Regions from separate parts of the Homo sapiens genome. Here regions 1, 2, 3, 5, 6 and 7 are each linked to region 4. Evidence: promoter capture Hi-C in 16 types of primary human blood cells and fetal thymus (Javierre and others, 2016). All regions are on one chromosome and are shown on one strand. The core of a region is centred on a gene start or on the middle of the fragment in contact, and the rest is flanking DNA. Distances in the headings are between cores, read along the strand shown.

Region 1 (3,580 bases), core at 598-3,097, 670 kb after region 4:
CAAAACCAGGAGAGCATTGTTGGAAGGCTCTCCTGGTTCCATTGAGGTTAATGGTCTATGCAAGGAACCCAGTGTTCTGCTTCATGCACTCCAGGAGTCTAACTTTTGTCTCTTCTCCAGCCTGCATACAGAGCAGTATCTAAAGATCTAGGCTTTATAATAGAAGCCATTAAAAAATGATTAGGAACCTGAAAGCTTCCTTCTATAACTGAGATCTGAAGGTTTTTATTCATTCACTTAATTAACATGCATTGTGCTCTCAAAATTTGCCAGAGTAGCATTGTGCTTATTCATCCATATAACTGGATGAAAAAGGCAGATATGGACCCTGCTGTGGGAGGTTGTGGCCTGACCTTATATACTGAAATTTCCAGAAGGCCAGATAGAGCATCAAGAAATAAAATAAAATAATAACATTCTTTTATGATAATGAGATAGATCCTTCAGTGCCTCCTGGTCTTCCCCACTCATACACACTCATGCCTAAAATAGTCCACGGTTCTGGACTCCTTTAGTGGGCCAGATCCTTTCATCACCATGGGCTGCTGAGACCACTGGAATTTCAGGCAAACCTATAAAACAGGGGCAGCTTTAGGTGACCACATTCTGTCATGAATCCTTGATTTCATATACAGTTTTTGCATTACATGTTTGCTAGTCCTAGGCCAAAACAAAAGGAGAAAAGATCTAATTTTAGCTGAGTTCGAGTTGCCTTTCTAAAAATTATGATTTCTTCTTTATGAGTCTTTTTGGTGAATTGACCCTTTTCTCAATATGTAATGTACCTGTTTATTCCTGGTAACATTTCTTGTTCTGAAGTCTACTTTGATATTAATATAGCCACCTCAGCTTATTATTTGTATCTGCATGCCTTATCTATTTATTTATTTTTTGAGACTGAGTCTTGCTCTGTCCCCCAGGCTGGAGTGCAATGGCACAATCTCGGCTCACTGCAACCTCCACCTTCCAGGTTCAAGCAATTCTCCTGCCTCAGCCTCCTGAGTAGCTGATTACAGGCGCACACCACCACGCCCAACTAATTTTTTTTGTATTTTTAGTAGAGATGGGGTTTCACCATGTTGGTCAGGCTGGTCTCGAACTCCTGACCTTGTGATCCACCTGCCTCAGCCTCCCAAGGTGCTGGGATTATAGGCGTGAGCCACCACACCCAGCCTGCATGCCATATTTTTGCATCTTTTTACTCTTTATCTTGCATTTTTATATTGAAAATAAGTATTTTTTGTTTGTTTTGTTTTGTTTTGTTTTTATCCAGGCACTGCGACTCACCTCACACCTGTAATCCCAGCTACTCACAAAACTAAGGCAGGATGATTGCTTGAGGCCAGCAGATGGAGACCAGCCTCAGCAACATAGTGAGACCCCCATCTCTAAAAAATAAAAAAAAGAAAAAGTAATCTGGGCATGGTGGTGTGTGCTTATAGTCTCAGCTACTTAGGAGGCTCAGGTGGCAGGATTCCTTAAGCTCAGGAGTTAAAGGCTGCAGTCAGTCCTCATCATGCCACTGCACTCCAGCCTGTGTAACAGAGTGAGCTCTTCTCTAAAAAGTAGAATAAGTTTCTTTTAAACTCCATATAGTTGGGTTTTATTTTTATTCAGCTTTATTATCTCTGCCTTCGCACTGGAGATTTTAGGTCATTTACATTTATTGGTTGGGTTTTAATCTATTTTCTTTTTCTGTCTTCCATATATTCTATATAATTATTCCCTTTTCCTGTATTCTCCAGATTACTTAAATATTTGTTAGTATTCCATTTTATCTCTAAAAAGTTTTACCTCTTGCCAGTTTCTAATATGCGTCTTTCACTTATCACAGTCGACCTTAAAATAATTTTGATGCCTCATTATATATAATACACTTTCATATCTTCCTGTGATTTGTGCTATTATTCTCATATGATTTGTTCATGCATTGGATTGTATAAAGATTTAAATTCAATTTTTTTAAAGAAATTTATGTCTGTTGTATTTACTCACATATTTAGCAGTTCTGATACTCTTCATTCCTTTGTGTGTGTTCACATTTCCATTTGGTATCTTTAACCCATGTAGTTTCTGCATGAATTATAAAGTATTCTCCTTCTCCCTCCTCCTATATGAGTATACAGAATTGAGTTTGTTGATTGTATTAACACCCTTTAATTCCCCAGTAGTAATAATAATAGCTATTATTACTCTTATAGTTTACATGTCTCTTCACATTCTGAAAGTACAATCACATATTTAAATAGAATTGTCTTTTTTCAAATGCTTTTTAAATTTTAGAAGCTCTTGTTTCATATATTTCATACTACATTGTTTGGTTCATAAAATATTATGAATGGTAGTTTTCTTGGATTGAGCATTTTGTCATTATGAAATATTCTTCTTTTCCTTGTTAAATATTTTTGATCTTGATTCTACTTTGATACTTATATTGTCATTTAAAAATTTTTTTGTTTGTATTTGTTGTAGAACATTTTTGAAAGAAAACTGAATCACATTTTAAAAAATCTGAATTATAAACAAGGTATATAGCTTAATTTTAACCACAGTATGATTAATCTTATCTTTTAACTGGTTGTGGAATTCAGCCCATTCACATTTGATGAAATACTGAGATAATTGACCTTATTTGTTCCATCTTATTTTGTTTTCTATTTATATTACATCACTCCCCATTCCCTTTCCTTTTTGTTTTGTGTGGTTTATTGGTTTCACTGGCTTGTTAATTTTTTCTTTATTCCCTTTTATTCCTTGTTACTTTGAGAGTCCTACTAAGTGTTTTGTTTCTACTAGTGGTTACATTCTCATTCCTTATAACCAACAATAAACTTATGTTCTGCCTAAACATGTATATGTATTTCAAGGAACGTTTTCTGTGTACCCCTTCTCTAGACTCTTACTTAATATTTGCTTACTTAATGTTTATTTTCAGTTCCAGACTGTTACTAAGTTTTTTTTGTTGTTGTTTGTTTTTTTTTTGTAGAACAGCAAGCCTATTGTATTTTAAGAAAACTCAATATTACAGATTCCTGCTTACATTATTATTATCCACTTAGATTTCAATACGTATATGCATATATTTTTATGCATATATGTATATGTTTAAGCATATTATGCACATACATGCATATATATACATATATGCAGGAAAGAGACACACAGAGTGAGAAAGGGTCTCAGTGTCTACTGGTTCCTCTAGTCTTTGATTTCCACCATATTGAGAAAGCTGCTCTGAATCAATTGTTATTTGGTTATACTCTTTCTCAAGTATTGTCCTCAGACAGTGCTTATGAGTTTACTTTTTGAATCCTTGTGTGTTGAAAATGTTTTTTTTGCCTCTTACAGCTAAATAATATTTTGTCTGGGTATAGGATTCTTTAATCAGTTTCTCGTAATAGTTTGTACATTATTCTAGTGTCTTCTACATTCCAGAGTTGTAGATGAGAATTCCCTTAGCTAGGATTAATCCTTTGTAAGTAACCTATTCTTTCTGTCTGGAAGCTTGTATAATTTTCTGTTTACTCTTGAAATTCAAGTGTTTCCTGGATTTACTTCCTGGACTTAATGAGACTTTTAA
Region 2 (3,292 bases), core at 786-3,285, 740 kb after region 4:
GAATTTGTATTCTAGTAAAGAAAATAGACAAGTAAATAAACAGTTACGGTTACTTGTGCCGTGTATGGAAGGCTTTGGAAAAACATAAAATGGGCCTAAAATTGAGACTTAAACAATTATTAAAGGATTCCTAGAGGGAGTGATGTCCAGTAATCTAATTACGACACTGCTTTCCCTGTTATTGCTTCCTGGTAAAGTGGAATTTATATATTTTTTGCGACTTTTAAACTTCAACTAGGCTTCATTTCTAATAATAAAATAATAACATTGTTAATTAGAACAAATACAACCACCACTCTGACTGGTACTACTATGATGACCATTTCTTACATGTGTCCTATGTGCCAAGTACTCTACCTGATACTGCTCAGACTTTATATCTTGCTCCTCACGATAAGCCTACAAGGTAGAGGTTGTTTCCCCATTCTGCATGAGGGAATTGAAGGCAGAAAGAATAATGTTTCCACAATCACATAACTAATCTCATAGCAAGATTTGAAATTGAGTCTGCCTCCAAGGTTCATATATCTTTTCTCTAGGCCAGTGGTTCTCAACCAGGGGTGATTTGACCCCTCAGGGGACATTTGGCAATGTCTGGGGACAGTTTTGTTTATTGCTTCTGGGGAAAGGGAAATGGCACTGGCCTGTGGTGGGTAGAGGCCAGGGATGCTGCCAAACACCTTACAATGCCCAGGCCAACCCCCTGCAACAAAGAATTATCCAGCTTCAAATGTCAAATGTCAGTAGCACTGAAGGTGAGAAACCCTATTCTCTCCTGGAACACCTCCAGTGATATTATTTCTCTTCATCAATTCAGCTTATTTCTATAGAAGCCAAAAAGCAGCCCACAATAAGGGTTTTGCTGATACATTAGTACTTTGTTGAAATGTGTTTTGTGAAATTGACTCTTCAGTAAAAGTAGTTGTGAGATTAAGAAAATAATAGAAGTGAAGCCTGAGGAGTAGGGAGGACAGGATGGTTTCTAGCTCATCTATTTCAGAGTCAAGCCACACGGGACAACTTGGCCGTCTTTCAGCACATCATGCACATTCCACCTCCTTTCCTTTGTTACTCATCCATCAGCACTCAGTCTAAATGTTACTTTGTGGAAACATCTCCAAATTTAATCCATTCTTAGAAAAGCACCAATCACTCTCTATGCTGTATCTGTGAAATACTTTACAACTATTTCAGTTTTTTCACCAAATCATGTTCACGTTTGTATGCCCATCATCCAGCATGAAATCCACATAGCTGGTCTTCACTAAATCAATGTAATTATTTAATTACTATTATTAGTAATTAAGATAATAAATATAAGAGGGTTTTGAAAAATCCAGAATAAGAATTGGTAAATATAGGTGAGGGAGACTTTAAGAAAATATAGATTCCCATGCCCTACCCTGCTGAGGATGCCTGGAATCTTGTTCTAAGTGTGGAAAATGTCACCTGGTACCCAGAGGAGACAGCCTGGGGGGATGAGTTGGCACTGAGGACACTGGGGTCAGAAGCAGTATTGATGTGTTTCTGCCAAGTAGGCAGATCAGACCAGAGCAGAACCGTGCTGCGCAGGAGCCAGGCCAGGCGCTGGCCAAAAGCTGGGGGCAGGAGGGAGCTTGTCCAAAATGAGAGAGAATATGGATCCAAAGAGGCAGACGGTCTGCAAGAAATTGGGGGTGGGGGGGGATTAGAAATGCAGATAAAGTCATGCCGTGGAATCTGGAAGGAGAAAACCGTGCCAGTCCCTGAGCAGATAGAGCAAGGACAACTCTGGGAGTTCCTGGATGTGAATCACAGAGGGCAGAGGAAGAACGTATTCATGGGATTGCAAGTTTATTGTTTTAAGTTGAGGTTCGGTTTAATGCGACCCACTACTGCCTGAGACCTCGGCAGTTCATGAGCCGTGGCAACAGCTCATGTGATGGAGGGAGGGGCAGAGAGCATACGTGGGGGGAAGGATAACTGAGTTTCCTGTTCCCAGGCTCCAAGGCTTTCTTGGAGTGCTGTGATTCTCTGGACTGCAGAAGGCTGGCCTTAGCTGAGAGACCAGACTTTGACTCTGTGGAAGAAAACCGAGAGAATCCAGGGCCTGGTGCTATTGCCAGCTCCCCATGTGTCCCCAGTTTTTAAATCTTGTGCCACACGTCAGTGTATATGGCTGTGAACCTGCCATGAAACCATAATATTTTGAGTTTAATACATACACTCCTGTTTGGATAATGAGTAATCATAGGCTTTAGAACTAAAAGGCTGCTCAAAGATTCTGTATACCAAATTCTTCAATTTGCAGATGAGAAAACTGAGGCCCAGACAATGGTGAATCATCCAAAGTTACCCCAGCATATTACTTTCAGAGTCAAATTTAGAATCTGAGTGACCTAGTTCATCAGCCAGGGTCCCCGCCCCATTGTACTACACTGTCTCCAGATTAGGAAAAGGGAATGACTCCTGATTTGTTATTCCATTTTATACCTTATATCCCATTTAATGGCCACAGGCAGCTTCACTGGTGGTTATTAAATAGGTAATTTAGTTTTCCTGAGCCACACTTGAGTAAATCTCTTTGTTTTGTTGTCACAATCTACAAAAAGCTCCAAAGAATCTCCTCCAGAGCTGGAAATAATAAAAACACCTGCTATTCGAGTTCCTTCCAAAGAGCTCAAAGCAGTTATTTTTATTTCACCTACCAATCGTTGAATACCTATGCTGTGCCAAGTGTTTTGCTAGGTACTTGACTATTCACTATTGTGAGCTCACAACCACACTGTGAGCTACAATTATTTTTGGACTTTAACATACAAGGATGAAGGTTTAAGAACCTGCCAAAGGTTACATTTTAATAAATTATAAAGTTGGGTTCCTGGACCCACCGATTGCAGAGCCTATGAGCTCTCCCGTGTTGACCTGGCTAGTGAATCTATTTGTGTGTAGGTATGTTTGTGCCTTTACTTACGTTAGCCCATACTTACACCAATGCATATTTGTATCTATAGTGGAAGATAGAGCTTCTGCTTAATATCCTTCTGGACGTTTGTAGATCTATTTTATGGATGAGAAAGTTGAGGCCCAGGGTGGAGAAGTGACTCTAATAAAGTGTATTTAAAGCAGCACAGGAGTCTGGGTTCCATCAATCATGGGGAATAAGGCCAGGCTTATTAGATCAGGGTAGGAATGGGATGCGTAGCTATTGGGGTTGTGTGGTGGAGAGATAAACAATATTAATGTTGACGTTAATTTTGTTTACTAAATTTGTTAATTAATGCTTACAATCTCAATCTCAAAGATTAATCTT
Region 3 (3,279 bases), core at 615-3,114, 720 kb after region 4:
TTCTACATGAGTTAGCTTTTCTTTATTGTTATTAGGAGATTAATAAAAATTGACCTCATTTATTTAGTGCTTACTATGTACCAGACACTGTACCAAGAATTTATTATCATTCAACTTTCACAACCCTAAAATATGTGTATTTTACAAATGAGGAGAAGTAGGCTGGCGAGTAGCTTGCCCAAAGTCATTCAACTCAGAAGAGAGGCCATCGTTTAATCTTAGATTGTACTTGTAAAATTCACACATCCAATACATAATGCCTTTAAATGTTCTCATTGTTAACATTTATTTTCTTTGGATTCTGTGCCTATTTCTGCTTATGTCTCCGGATTACCTGGGAGCTTTTAAAAATAAGAATCCTAGGGTTCCACTTTATAACATTGACCAGAAGTCAAGAATGGGGCCCAGGAATTGCTATTTTCAGAAGCTCCCTAGGTGACTCTAATGCAGGGCTCTTCATACCTTGGTGTGCGTCAAAATCACCTGGTGAGGGAGGATGGCTGGGCTCCACACCACAGTTTCTGCTTCAGTAGGTCTAGGGTGGGGACTGAGAATGCACACTTCTAACAAGTTCCCAAATGCTGTTCATGCTGCCATCCTAGCACTTGAGCATTTTTCCCAATATGTGTATGATCCCCCTCCCCCACCAACTGGGTGACGTAGATAGAACTTTAAGTGTCATTAAGTTATGTCATGTTTTGAATCTTTCTCTGCTCGATTTCCACGTCAACATGAGTGAGGGCTTCAGGGATTTTACTCCATCATTTTGGCTAAATGCCAACTTGGCAAATTCCACTCCTCCCCCGGAGGGACTGCAAATGCCAGTGTCCTCCTTCATTCAGGAGTGAGGTCATTGTCTGTGTGGTTAAAAGTGGACACTTTCTGCTGCTTCTGCTTTTGCACTGTAGTAGAAGTTTCAAGGAGCTCTATTTTACAGTTCCAAATTACCATCCCTCCCCTCTTTAATGCTTCCAAGATGGATAGTCTCTCACCATAGGTTAATGTTTAGATTTTGATCTCTATTTCTCAGCCCCCCAAATCTGGATGATCCTCTGGTGCCAGAGCTGTTGCATGTATCACCCCTGGACACTTTCTTCTCTGCTTGAACCAGAGAATAATTATATATAGTAGTTCCCCCTTGTCCATGGAAAATACCTTCCAAGACCCCCAGTGGATGCCTAAAAACATGGGTAGTACTGAACCCTATGTATACTATGTTTGTTTTTTTTTTTTTTTTGATCTGGTAACTGAGAGGATTACTAAGCGGACGACAGGGAGGTAGTGCCTACAGCATGGATTTGCTGGACAAAGGGATGATTCACATCCCAGGTGGGACCAAGCTAGATAACGTGAGAATTCATCACACTATTCAGAATGGTGTGCAATTTAAAACTTATGAATTGTTTATTTCTGGAATTTTCCATTTAATATTTTTGTACTAGAGTTGACCATGAGAAATTGAAACCATGGAAAGCGAAACTGCAGATAAGGGGAGACTGCTGTGCTAGAGTGCTATAGAGGATTTCATTTGGAAAAAAAAAGTTTTGGTCCTGGAAAAAAAGTTTAAGAACATAGTCGTATTCCATTTCTTCATATGTTTGAGATATTTCTGGCTTTGGTGAAACATAGGCTAGGAAAAGAACCTAACATCTTATTAGTGTAACTGAACAACAGTAACAGCAGACTTAGCCTTTCTTCCTTATGTGCAACATTACCTGTGACCTGACTCTTGAAACATAGCTGCTATTAAAGTACAAGTGAGTCATGCATAGCAGCTTCTCCTTGCCCAGTTAATTTCTCTGTAAAATCTTTACTCTCTTTTATTCATGTATATATATGTATGTGTGTGTGTGTAAATATATACATATATATGTTTGTATTTCCCTTTAAGGATTTCAAACACAAAGACCCTAGTCATTTGATTGTCTCTGTACTGTCGAATTTTGCCTACAACCCTGACTGTAGAGACACATTGTTACCTGTTTTCCATATTCTGTCTAGTAAATGCTTGGTTGTCAGGACAACGGCATAGAAGGTGGAAGCTCATTGATAACCACGTGAATTCTTTAAACAAATATGATCAGAGCAAATTCCAGGGTATGCTTGAAAGTAGATTTAAGGAAGAGCAAAGGTTTCAGACATATCCTTCCTTTTATAAACTTGATATTCATCTTTAAGGATCAGCAACAGTTGGAGTTACTCATAATTTTATTTAAAATCCTGAATAAAGATATCACCTTAGTTTTATGGTACGTTTGTCATTCCAGCTTGTTAGGCATGAGTGTGTTGTTACTGACAGAGCCCCTGGAGGACAGGCAGACACTGTGGTTCTCCATGGTCTCTCAGTACCAGGCACAGAGCAAGCACCCAATACATATTATAGGAATAAATGATCTCAAATCTTCACAGTGCCTCTTATAGATGGCTTTTATGATATATATCTGCAGAGAAACTGAATTCAGGGATTTTAAGTGCCTTTTTTGCAAGGCCCTTAAAGTTTGGGAAAGTAGGTGCATGGAATTAGAACTCAGATTATCCTGACTTCTAAGATCACACTCTTCATTGTAGCACACTGCCTTCTTGCCAAAAAAAAAAAAAAAAAAAAAAAGGAAGAAACATGTAAAAAGACAGACCATTTCTAAGATGAAATGTGTGCTTTTCAAAACAATAGCAGAAAACCTTCTTCAAAGGTAAAATAGTTGGAAATAGAAGAAGAAATAATATGTAATTTAGCGTTCGTTGAGGATAAGCAATTAATCCTGCCCTCCAGGGGTGAATTTATGTCTAGCCTATTTGCACATGAAAGTACAAGTTGGGCTTCATTTCTATGCAAGTAAGACATCTGGTTGGGAAGTGAAAAATTTTGTCAGTTACCTGAATCATGTTTGGTCTACATGATAGAAAAGCCCCTGATGTCTTCAGATCACCAGAAGACATTTGGCATTGTATAGTTAACACCAGATCCACTGACTGAGTGGTTCACCTGAGAGTTGCTGCTTGACATCCTGTAGATTCACCCATTGTTAGGAGGCTGTTACCATTTTGTAAGTCAGCAGTTTGCAAACAGTAGTCCAGACGAGAAACCAACGCTGGCCCTTGACAAAGTGTTCACTGGTGTGTGATGCAATAAATACATGAGGTCATAAAAGGAAGTGTATTTACCTTAAAAAAGAACATCCTTTATTTTGAGATCCTCTGCTTCCTATGTTTTTAGTGATACAATTTTGTGTCAAATAAATCCTCATTGTAAGATTTGGTTTTAATTAGTAAATGAGACAG
Region 4 (3,252 bases), core at 165-2,664:
CGCGGGAGCCACCATGCCTGCCCCGTTGACCGGCTGCGCCGCCGACGTGACGCTGGGCAGCGTGTTCTGGCTGTGCAGTTCGGCCAGGGCGCGCACGAAGCCCTCGGCGAAGCCCTCCTGCTCATCTGTCACGTTCTTGGGGCACAGGAACTGGGTGGGGGTCGGCGTGGTGGTGATGTGCCCGTTGCTGGACTGGATTATCAGGCGCTCCAGCTCGGGCGACGCCAGCTTGAGCAGCCCCACGTCGGGCGAGGTGAGGAGGTCCGAGTTCTTGGCGCGGAGGTGCGGCTTCAGGCTCCCCACTGGGTCGGCCAGGTTCAGGGTCATGCTCTGTTTCAGGATCTTGGGGTTACTGTAGCCATAAGGTCCGCTCTCGGACGGGAGGAACGAGGCGTTGAGGGCATCGTCATAGAAGGTCGTTTCCATCTTTGCAGTCATAGAACAGTCCGTCACTTCACGTGAGGTTAGTTTGGGCTGCGCGCACAAGTTTCGGGGCCGCAACAGGGCTGTGGCAAGCGGGGGACACCCGCGCCCCCCGGAGCCTTTGACAGGGAAAGTTTCTCTAAGAGCGCACGCACCCGCTGGCTGTCGTCCCCGCTGCGCCCTCCTCACCAGCTCGCTCCAGGGAGCGCAGGGTTAATTAAGATGCCTCCCGCACTCTTACTTGTCGACTCGCGCGCGCTACCCGGCTTTGAAAAGTCGCGGTCACTCACTGAGCGCTCTTCGTGCGCAGCGGTTCCTCGGAGTCCGCAGGCGAACTCACTTCCCAGAGCAGCGGCTCTCCCCGCGGAGCGGATCAGTGCGGACCCTGCAGTGGCCGGCCGGCGGCGGGTCTTGGCCGCCCGGACTCCGACGACTTGTCCCCTCCTCCGCTGCTAGGGGGAGGGGGCGCCCGGCAGCCGCGGCTCGCGCTCGCCCAAGTTCAACAACCGGTGCGAGCGAAGCTGAGCGCACGTCCTTCTTCTCTTGCGTGGCTCTCCGCCGCCTTCTGGTCTTTACCGCCGTGGAGAAGCCTAAGACGCAGGAAAGGCTTGCAAAAGTTGGCTCCGGGACTCTGCCACTTGTCTCCGGTCCTCCCAGCCGGGAAAGTTCTTTGCTGCTGCAGCCGCTCGCCGACTTCCCCCGGCGGGCGCGTGGGTACCGCTGCTTTCCGCCGCTGTCAACAGCGCCTGGGCAGCAGGGCTCTCCTCCCGGGGGCGGCTGGAGACCAGGCTCTCTGGACACTCCCGAAACACCAGCCCGGGAGCCACAGGCGCTAGCTCTGGGCAGTTAGAGAGAAGGTGAAAAGAAAATAAGATTTGCAGTTCGGACTATACTGCCGACCTGGCTGGCTGGCTGTGTCTGTCTGTCTGCCTGACTCCGCGCACCTCCACTCCCGCCTCGCTGCTTCAGCCACACTCAGTGCAACTCTGAGCCCTTATCCAGCCCGAGCTCAACACTTATCTGCTACCAGTCAACCCCTAAAAATAGCCCATGATGTCACCCCAAGGCCTTCCCATTGGCTCGCGTCGCTCTCAGGGGGGCGGGCCCGCCCGTCACCATGGAGACTCCACCCTAGAAGATTCTTCTCTGGGCCCGCGGAGGCTCACGGGATGAGGTAATGCTCCGCTGCCCTCCTACAGTCGGGCCCTTCTTTCTCCTACCCTCCCCCCTGCCGCACGCCTCTCGGCCCTCTCTTCCCCGGTCCCCTCCCCGGGCCGTTTTTCCCGGCCCGCCCGGTGCATTGTGGGCTGACGTCTTGGGGTTTGACTGTCTAGTGACGGTGGCTGCCGCGAGCGGGCGGACGCTCGCAACCTCTGATGGAGGGGGGCTCAAGTTCACGGCTGCGGACGGGGATGCGGGGGATGCAGGGACCCGGGAGGCCAGGGAACCTGGCCAGTTGTTTTGGGCCAGGGGTGCGGGCGAGGGGTGGTTGTTGTTTCCCCACTTGTGGGGCCCGAAGTCATCCACCGGCGGCCGCCACCGCGCGGGGCTGGAGGCTGAGAATCCAAGTACGCTGCCACCCCCCCGCACTTCCGGGGGGGCGGGAATACCGCCCTTAAGGTGGCTCTGTGAAGTCCCAGGTGGGGGCGAGCCTAAGGGGACTTAAGTTTAGGGGCGGTCTCCCGAGAGTCGGCCCCCCACGTTGAGAACACTCCGAAGTTTGCATCTCGGTCAAGTTCAGGAGCGACGGTCCGCGGGGTCGTCTGGCTGCTCGTAGAAGCCGAGAGATTTGTATTGCCCGAAACTGGACGCTCAGCTGAGTCTCCGTTGCACCCCACTTCATCCTCCGGGACCGTGGGGGAAAGGGCGCGGGGGTTCACAGCTTTGCCTCGGAGGGGCAGTTTTTATAGTGGGCGCAATTGGTGGGTAACAGGGTCCAGATGGGAACAAGCGTGTAGGCGATCCGAAACTCGGGGAACCCCGGTGTTAGTCTACTCCCCCTCCCGCCCCCGGACAACACGCACACGCTTAACACAACACGCACAACATAACGCGCGCGCGCGCGCACACACACACTCCATCCGCGCCGAGTTGCTTCCGGGAAAACAAGCCCAGAAGGCGGCGGACACTCGCATAAAGTCACGCAGTAGTACTCGGAGCCCGGGGTAGAACCTGGACTTCAAATCTCTGCACTCCCGGCCGGGTGGTGGGCGCATATCCTGGGTAGCCTCTAGGAAGCGCTAGACACATGTAAGTGGTTCCTTTTCCGCGGTTATTTTATTCTCCCCCCGCCCCCCACCCCTTAGGGACGAAAGTGTGTGGTGGAAAGAATCCCGAAGTCGGGAATCCTGGTTCTTTCGTGGCCAGGCTACCACAGTGTGAAGCAAGCAAATCACGGAACTCCTCCGAGCTTCATTTCCCTCATCTGCAGGTGGGGCCGGTGCCGTCCACCTCACTGGGCTGCCAGGAGTTAGTGTGACAGGGTCGCCTGCAGCACTAGGGAGGTGGTGGCCAAACAGCCCGCTTCCCTCCCCTGCCTCGCAGTTTCCATCCTCGCAGAGCCTGGATAGGATGCCAGGATATAAGAGTGCGATTTGGCAGGACCAGGTGTACTTTCCTGTGAGAAGCATCGAGGGGAGGAGGGGAGGGGGAACCGGGTTAGAAGTCAGATCTTTCCCAAGCCTCTGTCTAAAACTGGGGCTTGAAGTTGGACCTGCAGCAGTTTAAGTTCCTAGGTTCTAAATTCAGACTTCGCTGCTTCTGAACTTGGAATTCAGCCTTGGGTTCATTGCCCCCAGCCCTAAGGTATTTGCGGCTTTGAGTGTTCAG
Region 5 (3,648 bases), core at 442-2,941, 540 kb after region 4:
ACCTATGCATTCTCTCTATCTCTAGCACCATATACCTTTATATTTTGCATGGAATATTATTCCAAGAACCTAACTGATGTCTTGATATTCATTTTTCTTTTCTCTATTCTTGCATTTGAAGTGTTTTTTTTTTCCTCTAGTGCTAACTGATCATGTCACTCTTTTGCTACAGCCCTTCAACATCTATCACTCTACTACAGGCATAATGATAAATTCAGTTCCAGAACACCATAATGAGGTGAATATTGCAACAAAGCTCACATGAATTTTTGAGTTTCTCAGTGCATATGAAAGTTATGTTTACATTATATTGCAGTCTATTAAATGTGTAATAGCATTAGTCTAAAAAAAGTATATAACTTAATTTTTAAAAATTGCCAAAAAATGTGTTAATGATCATCGAAGCCTGCAGTGAGTTGTAGTCTTTTTCCTGGTGGAGGGTTTTACCTTGATGTTGATAGCTGCTTACTAATTAGGGTGGTGGTTGCTGAAGGTTAGGTGGCTGTGGTAATTTTTTTAAGTAAGGCAATTTTTTAAGTAAGGTTTGCTGCACTGATTGACTCTTTCTTTCACAAAAGATTTCTCTGTAGCATGCAATGTTGTTTGATAGCATCTTATCCATGGCAGGACTTCTTTCAAAACTGGAGTTAGTTCTTTCAGACCTTAGCCTTATCAGTTAAGTTTATGTACTATTCTAAATTGTTTGTTGTCATTTCAACATTGTTCATATCATCTTTATCAGAAGTAGATTCCATCTCAAGAAATCATTTCCTTTGTTCATCCATAAGAAGCAGCCCCTCATCGGTTCATATTCTATCATGAGATTACAGCAATTCAATTTCATCTTCAGGGTCCACTTCTAATTCTAGTTCGTTTGGTATTTCCACTACCTCTGCAGTAACTTCCTCCACTTAAGTCTTGAGCCACTCAAAGTCATTCATGAGGGTTGGAATTAACCTCTTCCAAATTCCTGTTAATGTTGATATTTTGACCTCCCATGAATCATGAATGTTCTTAATGGCATCTAGAGTGGTAAATCCTTTCCAGAATGTTTTCAATTTACTTTATCTAGATCAATTAGAGGAATCACTATCTATGGCAGCTATATCCTTACAAAATGTAATTCTTAAATAATAATACTTGAAAGCTGAAATTTCTCTTTGATCCATGGGCTGCAGAATGGATGTTGTGTTAGCAGGTATGAGAACAACATTCATCTCCTTGTACATCTTCATCAGAACTCTTTGGTGACTCGGTGCATTGTCAATGAGGAGTAACACTTTGAAAGGAATCTCTTTTCTTTGAGCAGTAAGTCTCAACAGCAGGGTTAAAATATTCAGTAAACCATGCTGTAAATAGATGTGCTGTCATCCAGGCTTTGTTGTTCCATTTCTAGAGCACAGGCAGAGTAGATTTAGCATAATTCTTAAGGGCCCTAGGATTTTTGGAATAGTAAATGAGCATTGGCTTCAACTTAAGTCACCAGCTGCATTTGCCCCTAACAAGAGAGCCAGCTTGTCCTTTGAAGCTTTGAGGCCAGGCATTGGCTTTTTGTCTCTAGCTGTGAAAGTCCTAGATGGTATCTTCTTCCAATATAAGGCTGTTTTGCCTACCTTAAAAATATGTTGTTTAGTGTAGACACCTTCATTGATTGTCTTACCCAAATCATCTGTATAACTTGCTGGAGTTTCTACATCAGCACTTGCTGCTTCACCTTGTGTTTTTATATTATGGAAATGGCTTGTTTACTTAAACCTCCTGAACCAACTTCTGGTAGCTTCAAACTTTTCATTCTGTAGCTTCCTCACCTGTCTCAGCCTTTACAGAATTGAAGAGTTAGGACTGTGCTCTGGATTAAGCTTTGACTTAAAGAATGTTGTGGCTGGTTTGATCTTCTATCTAGACCACTCAAATTTTCTCCATATCAGCAATAAGACTGTTTCACTTTCTTATTCAGGTGTTCACTGGAGTAGCGCTTTTAGTTTTCCTTACGAACTTTCTTTTGCATTCACAGCTTGACTATTTGGTGCAAGAGGCCTATCTTTTTGCCAGTCTTGGCTTTCCCTATGCCTACTTGACTAAGCTTAATCATTTCTAGCTTTACATTTAAAGTGAGAGACTATGACTCCTTCTTTCACTTGAACATTTGGAGACCATTGTAGGGTTATTAATTGGCCTAATTTCAAAGTTGTGTCTCGGGGGTAGGGATCCCTAAGGAGAGGGAGAGAGATGAGGAATAGCTAGTCTGTGGAGCAGTGAGAACACACACCACATTTATCTATTAAGTTTGCCCGTCTTATATGGGTGCAGTTTGTGGTGCCCCAAAACAAATGCAATAGTAACATCAAATATTATCATAGCAGATATAATATTAATGAAAGTTTGAAATATTATTAAGAATTACCAGAATGTGACACAGACATGAGGTGACATGAGCTATTGGAAAAATGACACTGATAGACTTGCTCTTTGCAGAGCTGCTACACACCTTCAATTTGTAAAAAACACAATCTGCAAGATGCGGTAAAGCAAAGCACAATGATACCAGATATGCCTGAGGCATACCTCAAACTGCGGTTTTAGTTCCAGACCACTGCCACAAAGCAAATATCTCAATAAAGCAAGTCACATGAATTTTTTGATTCCCCAGCATACATAAATGTTTTGTTTGTGCTGTACCGTAGTCTATTAAGTGTGCAATAGCACTGTATCTAAAAAAAAGGTACCTTAATTAAAAAATACTTTATTGCTAAAAATGCTAATGAAGTGAGCACATGCTGTTGGAAAAATGGCAGCAATGGACTTGCTTACTGCAGGGTTGCCACAGACGTTCAATTTGTAAAAAATGTAATATCTGCAAAGTGCAATAAAGTGAAGCACGATAAAATGAGGTATGCCTGTATTTGGGTAGAACTCAATCCTTAACATGGCCTTCAGGGCCCTACATGGCCTGTCTCGACTTGCATTCCTGGCTCATCTCATGATGCTTCTCCTGGCTCTCTGCATTCCAGCCACACCTTCCTTCTGTCATGTCCTCAAACATGCAATGCTCCCTTTAGCGTAAGAATTGTTACCCAGATTCTTTCTTCTGGCTGCATATCCTTCCTACCTTCCACCAGCATATCTAACTCCTGTTCATCCTTAGACCTAAGCTATCCAATCCAATAGTTGCTGAACCCACAATGCCATTTAAATTTATAGTAATTACAATTAAATATAATTAAACATTCACTTCCTCTTTTGCTCCAGCCAAATTTCAAGTGCTCAATAGCCACATGGTGGCTATTATACTGAACAGCACAGATATAGCACATTTTCATTATTGTAGAAAGTTCCATTGGATAGTGCTGCCCCAAACCTTAATTCAAAAGTTAGTTCTTCAAGGAAGGAGCATTTTCTCTACCAATACCACCTCCAACTAAGTCTTATTTCACTTATTAAATGTTTTCACAGTGCCTTGTACGTCTCTTTCATAGAACTCCATGTGGTTCGTGAATCATTCATTTTTTGTTATCAAATAATAAAATCATTCTATAAATCAAGAATAAAATACCATAAAATGAAACAAAATAATAAGATATTTCACTTTTTGGATTAATGTATGTCTTCCCTACTAGATTTTATGTTTCAGGAGGGCAGGAGCTATGT
Region 6 (3,515 bases), core at 773-3,272, 620 kb after region 4:
ACCGAGGTGGTGTTCAGGACAGGTCTTCTCCACGTACTGCCGCTGAGCTCACATCCACGCTGTGCATGCTGGGCTGAGTTCTCTTCAGGCTGTTTTCAGCTGACTTAAATGCAACACGTGATGATGAGCATATTTACATAATGTATGCCTGGTGAAATCACGAAAGATTGGAATTTCCCATTTTAATTCCATTTTAAAGATGCTTGTTAAGCAAAAGGATATAATTCATTTTTCAAACTGCTGAAATGTTATTTGGCCTCTTGAATCAAAGGCATTCCGCAAGTGTTTTCTTTATTACATGCCTTAAACTTTAATTAGAATTTAATTATAAGATCCTGAAGGCATGAGCAAGAGGAGCAGATGGGATAGTAAAAGCAGCTTAGTGAGGGAGGATTAAAGATTAAAAGTTGCTTGTTAATGGCATAAGAAATGAACAGAGAGCTAAATTACTATGCTTTTGTGCTATCCTGATGCTTTTTCGATTCTGTAACTTATTCCTGGTTGCAGGTTTTTCAATTCTGCAACTTATTCCTGGTTGGAAGTTGAAGAATCTCACAAATTAGATTTTTAATTTTTTGAGTTGCTAGAGTAGATTTGTACATAGAAAACAGGTAAAACCTGACAAAAAGGTGTTTTATGGCTAGTAGCACCTTGTACAATAATTTCTGCATTGTAGGGGCTTAGTGGTATTTACTGAATTGAACTAAAACTTACATCATCTCACTAGTAAACATCGAATGAGCATAAAATAAGATTTTTTTTTAGAGATGGATGGGGAAGGTGTGAGTCTATAAGTCCAGGCTAACCTGTCCCATGGAATGTTAGATACCTACTCAGGAAGGTAACTTGTATGAACCTCCCACCTTTAGCCTACCCCCCAGTCGACCTTAGTCATTTGCCCCACTTGGTTGGTTGGCTAGAGGAGTGGTAGAAATTTGGTGTGGGAAACACTTTGAGACTGCTCCTCATGTCACACAGTGAGGATGACCTGCTCTGCTCTCTGGTGCTATGTTACGATGATCTCCCGTTAGGCTAAATTATTCTACTTCTTAGTGCTTTTTCCCCTAGCTTTTTTTTTTTTCTTTTTGAAATCTGATATTTAGAGTCCTCTTCCCCACTTAATTGCAAGCTCAATGAAGAAAAACTAGAGAACAATAAGATAGAAAAGAAGACAAAAATGTAGTGAAACAAAAAGCATTCTATCTCCTATTTTCCAGGAACAAATGTTTTTTAAAAAGCTTTTTTAAGCCTGTTAATAGACAGTTGATTCTTCATTATTTGCAGATTCTTTGTTTGCAAATTTGCCTACTTACTAAATCTTATTTGTAACCCTCAAATCAATACTTGTGGCACTTTCACAGTCATTCGCAGAAATGCTCAGAGAGGAGGATAATTTCTGAGTCTCTCGTCATGCGTGTTCCTAGCCGATGGCAAATAACACAACACCCTGCCTTCTTGTTTCAGCTCTCATAGTGTAAACAAGTGTCCTTTTCGAAGTCTACTCGTGCCATGTTTTTCTCATTTTTGTGCTTTTTGTTGGCGATTTCACCATTTAAAATGCACCCCAAGCATTGTGCAAAAGTACTGTGTAGTGTTCAAGTACAGTGCAAGAAAGCTGCGATGTGCCTTACAGAGACAATAACGTGTGTTTGATAAGCTTCATTCAGGCAGGAGTTAAGTGCTGTTGGCTGTAAGTTCAGTGTTATTGACTCAACAATATATATTAAATGAGTTGTTTTTAAGCAAGAATACACATGAAACAGGGTTGCGTATTGATGAGTTGGCAAAAATATAACTGGAGGCTCAGAGGAACCTAGCCCTGTATTTCCCTTAGGAACAATGGTCCAGTGTTCCCTAATTTAATGTTTTTGGAGACTACCAAAAATAATAAGGTCAGCCATGTATCTTTCTCCTTTTCTCCTTGCTCTTGCTTGATCTTTCCATCTCTTGTTACCTCAATCTGTGTGTATATGATATGCATATATTTACTTAAATTATATATGCATATATTTAGCAATTATGATATCACATGATACACGATTCTGCAACCTGTCTTTTAACTTATCAATTGTGTTGGCCTTTGGGCTGTTTGCACTGAGATCCATTTGTCACCCTTGCCCTGCTCTGCAAGGGTGCTGTGTTACAGGGGGTTGACCCCTGCCCCCTGACAATTTGTCATCAGTGGGAGATGGCAAGGCAAGAGAAAGAGAAGCTGGAGTATTTGTCCCTCCCTCTGTCTGCCTTGGGCAGCATCTCTGGCAGTGGCCCCTCTACAGCTATCCCACCTGCAGGTTGGGTCCTCCATGGCTCTGTCATCGGCTGGTTGGTCCTGGGTCTCGAGCTTTAGCCCTGCCTTCTTCCTTTGTCCTTTTAGCTGATGGGTGGAAGAAGCTTCCTGCTGATGCTGATCTCTGAGTTTCTTCCCTGTCCCCTGGGTAGAGCATCAGATTTAAAAGCCAAGGCAAGACAAAAAATGAGAGAATGGTAGCAAAGATCCAACACTTTACAAGACCGCCTGAGAAAAGGGAGGAGGGGGTGGTTCGACACCAGGGCCTGCACACTGAGTGTGTGATGTTGCAGCTCTGCAGGCACAGATTAAGCAGCTAAGATGCCATCAATGCTTGGAAAGCAGCCGGTGCCTCTTGTCCTGAGCTTATTTGTCTGGAATATGATTCCCTTGAACCTGACTAGCTCATCCACGGGGAGAGAGAAAAAAAAATATTCTGATAGTTATCCTGACCAGGCTCTAACAGGGCCTCCTTCCCTAGGATATAATTTTTTCTGGCCTCTTTCCATTCACTTCTTCACATTAGGACCCTTTTCCCCCAGAGTGTGAGATTCCCTGAGGGCTCTAAAAACTGGAATGCTATACAGCATTTTAAGCCCCCTGTGTTGGCACAGTCCTTATTAAAAATGTATTTTCCTCAAGCCATGGCTGCACCCCCTGAAGTGTGGATTAACAGAAAGGCCTTCAGAGCTGGAAGACATTTTTGAAGAACCGCTGTACCAAGTGGCATTAAATATTTATTGCCTACTACATGTAAATTGTTCATCATCTTGTTTTAACTCTTGGACCAAAAGGTTTCTCATCTGCTTTCTGCTAAAGTGGAAATCACAGGAAAGGTACTCTTTACTTTGCTGTGGTATTTTGTTTTCCCAGGAATACGGAATATTTCTTTGTTCTCATAAGTAATACTAGAAAAGATTGCCTTGACTCTCAGCATTTCATTGGGAGGCCATGTGGTGTCATGATGGAGAAAAACTCGAATTCTGGGGCAAGTGCATTGGGCTTTGCCACCTGCAAGCTGTGTTGGCTTGAGAACCTGATACCATTTATGTTTGTTGTGCTGGAAAAATGGGACATTGCATAAATAGCAGATAGCACAATTCCTGGCACCCAGTAAGTTCTCTCTTTCTCCTAGGTCTTCTATTTGGGACTTTGCAAATACATTTCTAAGCAACCTAGAATAAAATATGCTATTAATATGCTGTTAATAATAACCAAAAGCACTCAG
Region 7 (3,502 bases), core at 822-3,321, 570 kb after region 4:
GGATTTTTTTTTTTTCTTTTTGGGCTTATTTTCCTAAAAAGCAACATGCTAGGGACTTCACAGGCAGAATTTTATCTCTGCCCTTTAGTGACACAGTGTAACAGCATGCTGTTTTACTGTATCTGTGTGGCAGTATGAGGAAACCAAGACTCAGAGGACTTAAGTAGCATCCCCAAAGCTACACAATAGTAGGTTGTAGAGCCCAGATTCTCACCTAGTCCAGTCTGCCTCCAGCTCCTGGGATCTAACTATTGCCTCTCACTGCCTGCTTTTAAAGGGCACTCATTTCTTCCCACTTGCCAGGGCTACAGGCTGGCAGACCACTGGCTGAATCTGGTCCCCAATCAGGTTTAGTTTGACCTACCATGTGCTTGGAAAAAAAAAATAAACAATTTTAAATTAGTTTCCAATATTTAAAAATTGAGAAATTTTATCTGAAAATTCAGATTATTTATTTTCCTGAATAAATAATGAAAGAACTTGGCAATACAGGGTCCACACTTCCATGCAGAAGGGAACGGCTGGAGCTGAATAGGGGCTGCCTTCTTTAGAAGGGGTCGGCATTCTTCATTTTGCAGCAGTCCTCACCCAGCCTGCTACACTCATTTCCTTTTTCAGCCCTACCCCTCTGAGCACTTGAATTTGAGACTTAGGCTGTGGGAATTTGTTCAAGGAATCTGTCATTACTTTTCCTCTAGCAAGCGCTTAGAGAAATGGAAAGGCATTCCAGATGGCGAATTTCTTGGTCCAGGGCTCTCATGATTCCATGCCTGTATTCTCTCACACCTCTGGGTCTTTGCTCAGGTTTTTCCTTCTGCCTGGCAAACTTATAGTAATTTCTTCCTTCACCAGGAAAACTTATAATAATAGTTCAAAACCCAGCCTTCACTGCCTCCAGGAAGCCTTCCTTGACTTAGGGTCCTACACTCTGTCCCCTGTGGCATTCTATGCTTATCTCTACCCTAGAATTTATTGCATTACATTGTGCTGTATTTATCTCAGTGTCCCTAGCCTCCAGAGCAATGTTTAAATTCTAACATTAATAACTTATTATATATTTTGATGGGTGGATGAATGAGCGGATGAACTTATTAAATCATCTCATGCCATTTTTGATGGCTAGGTGCATTTGTCCAATCATTTCATTCCAAACTAAAGGTTCACTGTATGCCCAACATAAGTTAATTTTCTCTTCCTCATTGTGGAAAATGAGATTTGAGCATTACTGTTCCTTTCCATCCTAGAGCCACCCCTTGGCTGCAGTCCTGTTACCGGAGTCACAGCTTATTTTGTATGCAAAGTGAAGGCTCTAGACTGAGACAGTAACTCCTCTGGGCCTCTCCACTGTGTCTTTGGACTCCTGTGATGGATACCACTTTAAGTTGCTCCCTTCACCCCCCAGGAGAATCCAAGACTCATCTTCTCAATCAGAAAGACTTTCTTTAGAATGTTTATACCAGGGCCCTGTATATTGGACCAGATTCCTCCCAGCCTTTGAGGAATGAAGACAGTATTGTCAGCTGCTGTTAGGGCATGTGTTGTGGATTTTCTCTCCAGGGTGGGTACTGGACTTGTAACTAAATACACAGAATGTTGAGGCTGATGGCTTGCCTTCATCTACCTGGACAGTGAATCCTTTCCTTATTATCCTGTATTTGCATATTTGATTTATACCAAATATGTGTTGCATTCTTTTAGTTTTATAGTCCAGCAAAGTAATTTTTAAAAGGCAGACAAAAGAAAAAAAGTTGTTGGCCAGATACCTTGTAACATTTAATAAATGTCAGCTATTATTATAATACTTTAAAAAATTTTACTTTATGGCTATGGCAGACTTTCATAAATATTTCCTTTATATGATCTATGACATGACCTTGTGGGATAAATATTACTACTTCTCACATTTTACAGATGAATACAAGCCTCAAAGAAATGAAATGACTTCTCTACAGGTATCAAATCTTGGTGAAGGTCCTTTGGGCTTAAACTGGAGCCAAATGAAGTCCCTTGGATCTTAATGAAGGTCCTTTTGGCTTTAAATTCTGGTATATGTGTGTGTGTGTGTTATTCTGCTGTACCATGTTTCTTCCTCATTTGGGTTGGTGGATTTTCAGCTCCATAAAAGCAGGGACCAAATCTATCTTTTCATACCTTACTGTTTTATATCCCCAGAGCCAAACACAGTGTTTGGCATTGAAAAAATACTCAATAAACATTTACTAAATGAATTCATGTCCCCTGGCCAGCCAGGAGCTAGCCATGTGACTGTAGTGCTGAAGACCACATGCCTGGCTTACCTGTTGCCAGTCTTCCTGACGGCTGTGCAGGGATGTTGGCCACCTCTAGGAGTCATTAGTGTAACCAGAGAGGTACGAGGAAGGATTGTGAAGTTAGGCTTGCTTTATGTACACATGGTATGATTCTGTGTCGATCAAAAATTGAACAAAATTCTTTTCTCATAGTGGCTAAAATGGAAGTCACACTTACTGGAGGAAAATACGATCTTTATAGAAACAACACTGAAAAGGACAATGCATTTAATGTGTGTTGTGATACAGTAACTCATAGCGTGTAAACTGTCAACTTGGAAATCTAGAGGCTCAGGGTCAATGGATGTCCACTGATGCAAGGAAGGTGGCAGGCTAGAAGTCCAAAAAGGTGCAAAATGGTATTCTTTTGGAGGAGTAAGTAAATCTCATTTCTCTGAACACCTGGGCTGTTTTACTTTCTTTTTTCCTATTATCCAAAGTGACCATAATTGTTCTGTTATTGTAGGGATATATTCATTTAATCAGTGAAAGAAACTTTTGTCTGGTAACTACTAGGTACAAAGTACTGTGCTTGGTGATGGGGAGGAAAGGAGGAAGCCAAGCTCACCCTTTATCTCAAGGAATTCCCATATCTAGTACCAAGAGCGAGAGGCTGTGAAAGCCATTACCCGCCCTGCCACCCCCCCGCCATGTTTTATTATCAAAATTTCAAACATATAAAAAAGTTGAAAAACTTTTACAGTGAATACTCAGAGCCATCACCTAGAGCCTGCCATGGACATTTACTGTCCTTGCTTTATGACTTATGTTGTTTCCATCTGTCTGTTCCTCTACTCAGCTTACATTTTTGGAATAAGTTGGGAGATTGTTACACTTGGGAAGGCAGTTTGAAATATTAAAAGTTGTTTACATTTCTGAAATATTAAATAAGTTTTAGTTAAGATATTGACTTTGTTTTATTGCTATCTACATACATGGCCAACACCTGTACTAGACTTTATTAAATATCCACTGTGTGCTTTCAAATCTTCTATCCCATTTATTCTTATGAAAATCCTGTGAGGTAGATGTTATCACTTGCTTTGCAGATGAAGAAATTGAGGATGGAGGGAGTTAAGTAGATTGCCACTTATCAACTTTATTACCTCTGGCAACGTTGGAATGCAAACCCAGGTTTCTGACTCTAAGAAATGAATTTGAAAAATTATTGTAAAGGTTAGCTGGTCAAACAC

Evidence for each region. The method cuts DNA at HindIII sites, captures the fragments that hold promoters and counts their contacts. A CHiCAGO score of 5 or more calls a contact.
Region 1: a fragment that was not itself captured here is called in contact with the fragment with the promoter of JUN in region 4 in 1 of 17 cell types (neutrophils); the score reaches 8.0 in neutrophils.
Region 2: a fragment that was not itself captured here is called in contact with the fragment with the promoter of JUN in region 4 in 1 of 17 cell types (neutrophils); the score reaches 6.0 in neutrophils.
Region 3: a fragment that was not itself captured here is called in contact with the fragment with the promoter of JUN in region 4 in 1 of 17 cell types (neutrophils); the score reaches 5.5 in neutrophils.
Region 5: a contact is called between a fragment that was not itself captured here and the fragment with the promoter of JUN in region 4, in 1 of 17 cell types (total B cells). The highest score is 5.0, in total B cells.
Region 6: a fragment that was not itself captured here is called in contact with the fragment with the promoter of JUN in region 4 in 1 of 17 cell types (total B cells); the score reaches 5.4 in total B cells.
Region 7: a contact is called between a fragment that was not itself captured here and the fragment with the promoter of JUN in region 4, in 1 of 17 cell types (neutrophils). The highest score is 5.7, in neutrophils.

What each region holds. Positions count from the first base shown.
Region 1 is chr1:59,448,409-59,451,988 of GRCh38, forward strand. All of the region lies in intron 5 of FGGY (FGGY carbohydrate kinase domain containing), which reads left to right. Among named protein-coding and RNA genes, the nearest start is that of FGGY, 150 kb to the left of the region's middle. The HindIII fragment of the contact is 3,309 bases long and covers 194-3,502 here.
Region 2 is chr1:59,519,359-59,522,650 of GRCh38, forward strand. All of the region lies in intron 7 of FGGY (FGGY carbohydrate kinase domain containing), which reads left to right. Among named protein-coding and RNA genes, the nearest start is that of MIR4711, 210 kb to the right of the region's middle. The HindIII fragment of the contact is 6,777 bases long and covers 1-3,292 here.
Region 3 is chr1:59,498,079-59,501,357 of GRCh38, forward strand. All of the region lies in intron 6 of FGGY (FGGY carbohydrate kinase domain containing), which reads left to right. It overlaps LOC124904192 (a long non-coding RNA gene), which reads right to left and starts at 2,954. Exons shown (of 3, transcript XR_007066139.1): 1 at 2,875-2,954. The HindIII fragment of the contact is 3,856 bases long and covers 1-3,279 here.
Region 4 is chr1:58,782,633-58,785,884 of GRCh38, forward strand. JUN (Jun proto-oncogene, AP-1 transcription factor subunit) reads right to left here and starts at 1,415. Exons shown (of 1, transcript NM_002228.4): 1 at 1-1,415. The coding sequence starts at 438. It overlaps JUN-DT (JUN divergent transcript), which reads left to right and starts at 2,519. Exons shown (of 2, transcript NR_108106.1): 1 at 2,519-2,673. RefSeq lists enhancers at 1,113-1,860, 1,375-1,634, 1,861-2,606. The HindIII fragment of the contact is 7,855 bases long and covers 1-3,252 here.
Region 5 is chr1:59,326,600-59,330,247 of GRCh38, forward strand. The region is part of intron 2 of FGGY (FGGY carbohydrate kinase domain containing); the gene reads left to right. Among named protein-coding and RNA genes, the nearest start is that of FGGY, 31 kb to the left of the region's middle. The HindIII fragment of the contact is 331 bases long and covers 1,527-1,857 here.
Region 6 is chr1:59,404,849-59,408,363 of GRCh38, forward strand. All of the region lies in intron 5 of FGGY (FGGY carbohydrate kinase domain containing), which reads left to right. Among named protein-coding and RNA genes, the nearest start is that of FGGY, 110 kb to the left of the region's middle. The HindIII fragment of the contact is 734 bases long and covers 1,656-2,389 here.
Region 7 is chr1:59,355,547-59,359,048 of GRCh38, forward strand. All of the region lies in intron 4 of FGGY (FGGY carbohydrate kinase domain containing), which reads left to right. Among named protein-coding and RNA genes, the nearest start is that of FGGY, 60 kb to the left of the region's middle. The HindIII fragment of the contact is 4,250 bases long and covers 1-3,502 here.